Linked DNA regions of Homo sapiens: region 1 is linked to region 2. The links are contacts of gene promoters, found by promoter capture Hi-C in blood cells and fetal thymus (Javierre and others, 2016). All regions are on one chromosome and are shown on one strand. The core of a region is centred on a gene start or on the middle of the fragment in contact, and the rest is flanking DNA. Distances in the headings are between cores, read along the strand shown.

The links. The method cuts DNA at HindIII sites, captures the fragments that hold promoters and counts their contacts. A CHiCAGO score of 5 or more calls a contact.
Region 1: a fragment that was not itself captured here is called in contact with the fragment with the promoter of MAGI3 in region 2 in 2 of 17 cell types (fetal thymus and naive CD4 T cells); the score reaches 6.3 in fetal thymus.

The regions. Positions count from the first base shown.
Region 1 is chr1:113,946,180-113,950,112 of GRCh38, forward strand. All of the region lies in intron 2 of HIPK1 (homeodomain interacting protein kinase 1), which reads left to right. Among named protein-coding and RNA genes, the nearest start is that of HIPK1-AS1, 19 kb to the left of the region's middle. The HindIII fragment of the contact is 2,475 bases long and covers 765-3,239 here.
Region 2 is chr1:113,387,620-113,391,788 of GRCh38, forward strand. It overlaps MAGI3 (membrane associated guanylate kinase, WW and PDZ domain containing 3), which reads left to right and starts at 2,896. Exons shown (of 21, transcript NM_001142782.2): 1 at 2,896-3,730. The coding sequence starts at 3,415. RefSeq lists silencers at 1,228-1,472, 2,462-2,511, 2,542-2,901, 3,312-3,441, 3,502-3,661 and enhancers at 3,342-3,841, 3,892-3,941. The HindIII fragment of the contact is 2,966 bases long and covers 1,424-4,169 here.

The sequences.
Region 1 (3,933 bases), core at 752-3,251, 560 kb after region 2:
TCTCACCACCAGCCACACCAACATAACATATATATAACATACTCTACAGGTGCACTGAAGAATTCAGCGCAGCATCCCATTTTGAGTCCTCAGGAGGGACTAGGCAGACCACAGCTGAAGGAAGAGGGCTGATCAGCTCTTCCTTTCTGTCTTGACTCTGTGCCTGCAGGTGTTCTTTAACTATTTGTTTGCCCTGTCAAAGACAAAGTGCATTCTCTTGTGATAACAGAGTAGTTTTTAAATTGAAAAAGGGAGAGCAATAGGAGATAAAAATTATTTGGCTTTGTTATAATTGGGGCATGTTAATACAAAATAAAATGAATTATTTGGCTGCTTAGCTTTCTGTAATGTGTAATTCATTTGAATAATTTTCAGTGTTAGGTTGCTGATCTTTGTATTTTTTATCCTTTTAATTTAAGCTGTCAATTGATTCATTTTGGTTTTGTTTTTTATAGAAACTAAGGTTTTCAAATCTTCAAAGTTACCCTTCGACAAAGCTTTCTTTAAATTCACTGCAATATAGTTGTTGACTATAATTTTAAGTGGAGCTAAGTTTGCCTCTTAAAAACAGGAGTTCATTCTGTGTATTACTGAGTAATTACTCTGTATACTGAAGTTCAGTGCCCAGGGCTTGACAGTGTTTAGGATTTAACATGAGTGTTCTGTTGTGTCACAGTAATACTTGATAATGAGCCTAAGGCAGATGGAACAGCAGCTCAGGCATTCCTTCTTTATCACTAGTTTTACCCGCAGTGGTCCTCTTAAGCTTCTTTGATGTTGCTTTGTTGCCATATTAGAGTCCATTAAGTCCTCACCCTTCTGTCTTTCAAAAAACCTCTGTGAAATCTGTTTGGCTGGTGAAGCATTTTGACTCCAAAGCTAGTCCTTCTCTTACCCACCTTTTTAGTTTACCTTGCTTTGTCTTTCTGATAATATGCCAGTATTATCAGCTCACATAAATTTGCCAACTTGCTGTGTCCATTGGCCCTGGGCATGGCTAAATGATTCAGGCAGTGGAAATAATATACTTTACTCTCTGGCTCACTGTAAATGTGCACAGACTCCAAGCAAAGCTCCTGTCTTTCGGGCTTGAGTTTTAGAGACAAAGGTTTGCCATGCTTACAGGCTGAATGTTTTTCCCTACTGAACAAACTAGCCAGCCTTTATTTCAAGCTGAATCACTTTGTTACTTACGGAAGGAAAAGGTCTAGAGAAGGAAAACGTATCTTCCATTTATCCTAGACAAACAAATAATCTAATTTCCTCTGGCAGTCAAAATATAGTTTCACCTAAGCCACTGATGCAGGAAGTTAGGTTTTATGTAACCTCTCTAATTGGTAAGTAAGTAGGTTTGATGTCTCTGAGATAGGAAGAAAGAAACGAAAATGTTCATGAAAATAATCAGAGTGATTTGTGTTAAGTGATCCTAACCTTAGCTTGCTCTGGGTGCCAGTGAAATTAACCTCAACAATGTTGGTTGGAAGAATTTTTCAACTTAAAGAAGTTTGAAGTTGGGGAATCAAAAGGCAGGGATTGTTGTTTCTATCACTTAGCTGTAATAACCAGAGCCTGTTTAGTATTTGTTTTTTAAGGATGGGATGTGTCTTCAAAGAGGAGACTTGCCATGTTCAAAGCACAATTAATGCCATTTTCCTACTGAAGTGAACACTGCCAGTTTTTAACAGTTTCTTTCACTTTCCTGTGCTTCTGTAGATAACCTTTTTTACTGCCCAGTTGTTGGAATGTTACAGCTGGAAAGGGACCTAGAAGAGTAATTATCTAACTCTGTTTCCTTATTACACAAATGAGGTAGAACCAGAGTTTTACGTGTCTGTAGAGTTTATATTGAGGGATTAAGAAATAAGGAGGCCAAGAGGAAAGATGTAATGAAAATAATTCTAATAATTATAATCTGGATTCACAGTTTAAAGTATTCAGTCCTTAGAGATAAACCTGCTCTAGTGATGCCTTACTGTTCAGTAAAGTAGAAAATAACTTGTCTTTTTGCTTCGTAGAGTTTGGGTAAGTCTAACATTTATAGGCCCAAATAATACAAAACCCTCAGTGAACTAAGCAGCCTTACTGCTTTTTTGTTTGTTTTTGAGACAGGGTCTCAGGCTGGAGTGCAGTGGCGCAATCATGGCTCACTGCAGCCTTGACCTCCTGGGCTCAAGTGATCCTTCCACCTCAGCTTCCTGAGTAGCTAGAACTGCAGGCATGCACCACCATACCTGGCTAATTTTTTAAATTTTTTTGGTAGAGATTGGGTCTTGCTGTGTTGCCTAGGCTGGTCTCAAACTCCTGCTCAAGTGATCCTCCTGCCTTGGCTTCCCAAAGTGCTGGGATTATAGGTGTGAACCGCCGTTTCTGGCCGTATTTTTTTTTTTTTTAAACTGCTTTCCTTTTTTTGTTTTTCCTTTTGCTATTTGCCTTTTTATAAGGTAGATACGGTAGAGTTGCTGTTTTGACTGAGCTTTTGCTGGAAGTCCTTAGCTGCTTTTGTCACTCCAAAAGCAGGGTGAGACCAAATGAAAAAACTTTCAGCTAATCTTCAGTTTTTTTTTTTAATTAAATGGGACTTGGGGGCTGTGGAAGTGATATTTTCCTTAATTTCCCAGAAAACTTTAAGCTCGAGACAGTTATCATATATTATTGCTACCTTTTTTATTTTTTTCTGAGACGGAGTTTCGCTCTTACGCCCAGTCTGGAGTGAATTGACGTAATCTTGGCTCACTGCAACCTCTGCCCCCCGGGTTCAAGCGATTCTCCTGCCTCAGCCTCTGGAGTAGTTGGGATTACAGGCGCCTGCCACCATGCCCAGCTAATTTTTGTATTTTTAGTAGAGACTGGGTTTCATCATGTTGGCCAGGCTGGACTTGAACTCCTGACCTCAGGCCATCCACGTGCCTTGGCCACCCACAGTGCTAGGATTATAGGCGTGAGCCACCGCGCCTGGCCTGTTATCGCTACCTTTTAAAGAAGAAAGTTATAGAGTGGCCTGGCCATTCTCTGTGACCTACCTTTTGGACTTTAAAATGTCTTTCTAGTATGGTAGGAATAGCAAAATCAATATGCTGCCCTCCAATTGATGCTTTGGAATGTTCTAAACCCAGTTTTTATTTTGGCTCATTGCCAGTTGTGCTCCCCCTGCCAGCTATTTTTGGCATTGTCATGAACTTGGAAATTAATGATTCTGCTCACTAGGAGTAGAAAATTTTGTTCCTTTTCAATTTTAGAAAAGCTTTTATGTTGTTTCTGGGTAGTCTTACTAGCTTATTAATGCGCCTGTCAAACTTGTGCAGTGTTGAAAACATGCCATTATGGTTGAGATTTCACTGAACTCTGAAATTCCATCAGTAATATGTGCCTCTAGCCACCTGCAACAGGAATATCACTTTTGAGGGTTACTTCTTTTCTTTTCTTTTTTTTTTTTTTTTGAGACAGAGTCTTACTCTGTCACCCAGGCTGGAGTGCAGTGGCACTGTGTCAGCTCACTGCAACCTCCGTCTCCTGGGTTCAAGCAATTCTCCTGCCTCAGCCTCCTGAGTAGCTGGGATTACAGGTGCCCGCCACCACACCTGGCTGATTTTTTATATTTTTAGTAGAGATGGGGTTTCACCATGTTGGCCAGGCTGGTCTCAAACTCCTGACTTCAGGTGATCCAGCCTCCTCGGCCTCCCAAAGTGCTTGTATTACAGGCATGAGCCACCGCACCCGGCCAGTTATTTCTTTGGTAAACAAAACCACAGTTCAAATTAAATACTACAAAAACTGATGATATTGGTGGTTCCACCCATAGCTGTTAAAAAGTGTAAGCCCGAAGAGGCCTGGGTCGACTGCTATTTGTATTTAAGGATCAGAAAAGCTTTCAGGCCCTGTGGAGTCCCCAGATTTACTGTTTTCTAAGGGCCACTATTTATGTATAAATACTAG
Region 2 (4,169 bases), core at 1,646-4,145:
ACTGTTTGCTCTATGCTGCATCCTATGTTATCAAATAGCTTGACTCAAATTACTTGACTCAAATAGCTTCATACAGTTCTCACAACAACTCAGGTAAACACTGTCATCAAACCCATTTTGTGGATGAGGAAATTGAGGATAGGCAAGGTTAAATAGCTTGCTCAAGATCACAGAGCTAGCAGTAGAAAAGCTGGGATTTGCAGTAAGTAGAAAAGCTGGGATTTGCAGTCTGATTTGCTCAAGCTCTGAACCACTGCAGTTTTCTGCCCAAGAATGAATACAACTTATTCATGGTTGAGGCATGTGGCAAACACTGTTGGATGCCTACTTAGCAACTATTTCCCCTTTTCTGCTCTCAGTCAGAACACTCATTTTGTTTAGGGGTGACTTGTGATCAATTTAATGAACTGTGGCCAATCCTATCTCTTTTTGCCAGTGACTGGTCTGATGTGGCATATGACCATTTTCTGGACAATAAGGAAGATTCTAAAGTCTGGGAAATATTTTTCTCCTTCATAAAAATGGGGGACAGCACTTCCTTTTCTTCCGTTCCTGCTCTGTGCAGTGACCTCTGTGGATGTGATGTCTGGAGCTATGGCAGCCACATTGCAATTAAGAGGTGACAAACCTGGAGACAAAAGCTCACATGCATGTGATGGCAGAGAGCAAACACAAAAAAGAGCTTGGGTCCTTGATGACATGATTGTACTGCTCAACTAACCCTGAAACTATCTGCACTTGAAATTTATATTGAAGATATAGTAAATGACCTCATGCTTTAAGCTACTGCCAAATATTCTGTTCCTTGAGGCCAAAGGCATTCTAACAGATGCAATCTAGACACAGAAAGATGTTTTCCCAGAGTTCCTGCAAAAACAGATGATGTGTAGGTTATGGAGATTTTATCCAGGAATCCATTAGTATAGGTAGTAGTTTAGAAAAAAAATACTCCAAGCTTTGTCTCAGATATGGTTAAATCTGAGCCATCCACATGGTGTCTGTGCTGAATATTTTCCCCTCAGATGCACTGTTTCCTTTTCTGAAACTGACTGATATGAACTATATCAAAAGCCTCCCTTGCCCTCTGGCGTCTGGTTGGACTTGGCCATTGACAAGCACCAGCAGGAGACTGGAGGAGGGTGGTGAGTTAGATATAAATCCCCCAGGTCCTTTGCTGGGTGTTTACTTAGGCTGACTGCATCCGTTGACTGAAGGTCACAGACTCCTGTCAGGTGGCCCTGTGTGTCTGGATTTTTCGGTAACTGTTCTTTCCCGATTGGACAGATCTAGGAGCTGTAGCCTCAGGGTTCCAGCTTCTCTTGTGGTTTCCCACACCCTGCCCACATCTTTGCAAAATGCCATTTGTTTCCTGCCAGGACCCTGACTGATACAATGGTGTCAACGAAATCACTGCAGCTATTGAAGCTTGGTCCAGTCTATCTGAGGTGTGGAGTTTTATAAGGGCTTTCACCTACTATTAAAGGGAGACAGGAGACTACACAAATAAATGTCATGCTGCAAAAGTGAAACAAAGATCATAGCTCAGAGAAAACACTTTCCACTTGAGGGCAAGAAATCAGAGAAAGCTACCTGGAAGAGCCGGCATTTGGGATGAGGACGGATAGGAGTTTTAAAAGAGATGAGATGAAGGGCATTCCAAAGACAGGGAAGAGTGTAAGTCAAGCCGGGGAAGAGAGAAAGCTCAAGTGAAATTTCTGAAAAATTAGAGCTGGAAGGGATCTACGATATCTTTTATTTAATGTTCGTTCTCCCTTCACCTCCTTTAACTGAGATTTGGCCAAGGTCAAACAGCAAGTAAGTAGCATGTCAGGACTCCAACCAGATCTGCTGGCTACCAGGTTAGTTCTTAATAATCCACCTTCTACCTCCACCCCACTCCCTCACCTCAGGCAGTCTGCTTACTTCTCAGTCTCTCCCACTAGACTGTAACCTCCTCAATAGCGGGGCTTCTGTTTTCTTCACCCTTGAATCCCAGTACCTAGCACAATATCTAACACAAAATCGTCATCGTCATCAGCAGCAGCAGCAGCAGCTACCAAACTTTAAGAGGCAACCACCCACTGTCAGGCACTATGCAGTTATTTTGTACATCTTCTGTAATCTTCACTTTTCACTGAGGACGCTGCGGCTCAGAGAGGTTGTCTAATTTGTCTTAGGTCATACAGCAGTGCCGGACTCTATTTTATAATATCTTTCATCAACCGGACTCCGAAGCCCTGCCTCAATGGGCGTTCAGTAACATCTGTTGAATGAACGAATGAACAAGCAATATCCACTCAATGCAAACTATCGGCTGTAACAGGCCACCCTAAAGGCCCCGGAACCTCGGCCGGCTCAGGACTCCGCACGTTGTCTTCCAATCTAAGCACACCGGCCCCTCTCTGCGCCCCGCACAGGCTCAGAGGCTCCGCCCGCGTCTCCGCCTAACTCGCCGGCCACGCCCCCACTTCGGGGAGCTCGGTCCCTCTCGGATTCGAGTTTTCCTCGGCTCCAGCCGCCGCGCAGAGGGCCTCTCCCGGCCCTGCGACCTACAGCCCCTTCCACTCCCCTGCCCCTCCTCTGCGCCCTCCCTCACTCTCCAAACTTCTTTTTTCCACCCTCTCTAAACTTCAGTCATTCTAGTGCCCGCCTCCTCCACTCGCACCGACCAACCAGTGGTCCCCATTCTCGTTGGCGGTCCGCCTCCTGCCCGCCGGGGGCCAATCCCTGGCGCGAGAGTCCAGGGCCGGGGCTCGTTCCCAAGCGCCCAGCCTGTGACGGCAGCGCGCCGGGCGCCGCGCGGCGGGAGGGGGCGGGGCTCTGGATGAGGGATGGGCGAGGGCCGGGGGAAGGGAAAAGGGAGGAGGAGGAGGTTGCGGCTGGTTTGAAAGCGGCAGTTTCCTGGCAGCTTGGGCAGGCGTTGGTCTCCGCGCTACAGCTCCGCAGCGGCCACGATCGATCCCGCGACGGGTCTACGCGCGCTTCTGCGCGCCCCCCACGGATTTTTCCCGTTCCCGGCTCTTCCCCCTTCACCTCCCCGCCCCCCCGCCTCAGCCTTTCCCGCCGCTCGGGCGCTGAGCCCAGGGACCAGCCGGCGGCAGTGACCCCGCCCGAAGCCCCTTCTGGAACCTCCTGGGGACAATTCCCTTTTCCTTTCTTCAGCCTAACCCGCGGTGGCCCTCGCGGAGTCCGGTCAGCCCCGGGGAGCGCAGCCGGGAGGGGCGTCCAAGGGGCGTCTCGCGTCTGGGAACGGCCGGGCCCCCAGCGGGCTGTGGTCGCGGGGTGGGGGCCGGAGCGGCGAGGCCCCCCTTACCGGGCTGCGCGGGCCGCCCAGGGCCCCCGGGCTGAGACGGGGCCGGAGCGGCGCCCCGGCCGCCCGCGCGGGGTCTCCCCCATGGTGCAGCGGGGTTCGGGATGTCGAAGACGCTGAAGAAGAAGAAGCACTGGCTCAGCAAGGTGCAGGAGTGCGCCGTGTCCTGGGCCGGGCCCCCGGGCGACTTCGGCGCGGAGATCCGCGGTGGCGCGGAGCGTGGCGAGTTCCCCTACCTGGGGCGGCTCCGCGAGGAGCCCGGCGGGGGCACCTGCTGCGTCGTCTCGGGCAAGGCGCCCAGCCCAGGCGATGTGCTGCTGGAGGTAAACGGGACGCCTGTCAGCGGGCTCACCAACCGGGACACCCTGGCTGTCATCCGCCACTTCCGCGAGCCCATCCGTCTCAAGACTGTGAAACCAGGTACGCCGGCCCTGCGTATCTGTCTCGGGGTGTTGGGGAGAGGGGCTTCAGGGTGGGCGTCCTGGGAGCGGCGGCACCTCCCCACCGCGTATTGTCCCGGGTAATCTTAGACCTCTAGGGTGTGCCAGACTCCTTGACGAGGGGGAGGGGTGGCGTTGGTGAGTCCCATTTTGCCGAAGGGAAAACTGAGCTCTGGCTTGGCGCGGTTGCTCTGCTAGCTGTGCTAGCTGTCACAGAATTGCGACTAGAAGCTGGGTTTCCTACATTTGTAGCTCCATCTCCCCCCGCAGACAAGAGTTTTTGACTAGAGAAGGCCAGCCTTTTCCTGTGTTGTGCAAAAAGGCCCTTAGGATTGTAACATTTTCTTTGGAACGATCTTACGCATCTTCTAACAGGGAAAAAGGGACTTTACTATAGAGGCACTTGGTGCCAAGGTTAC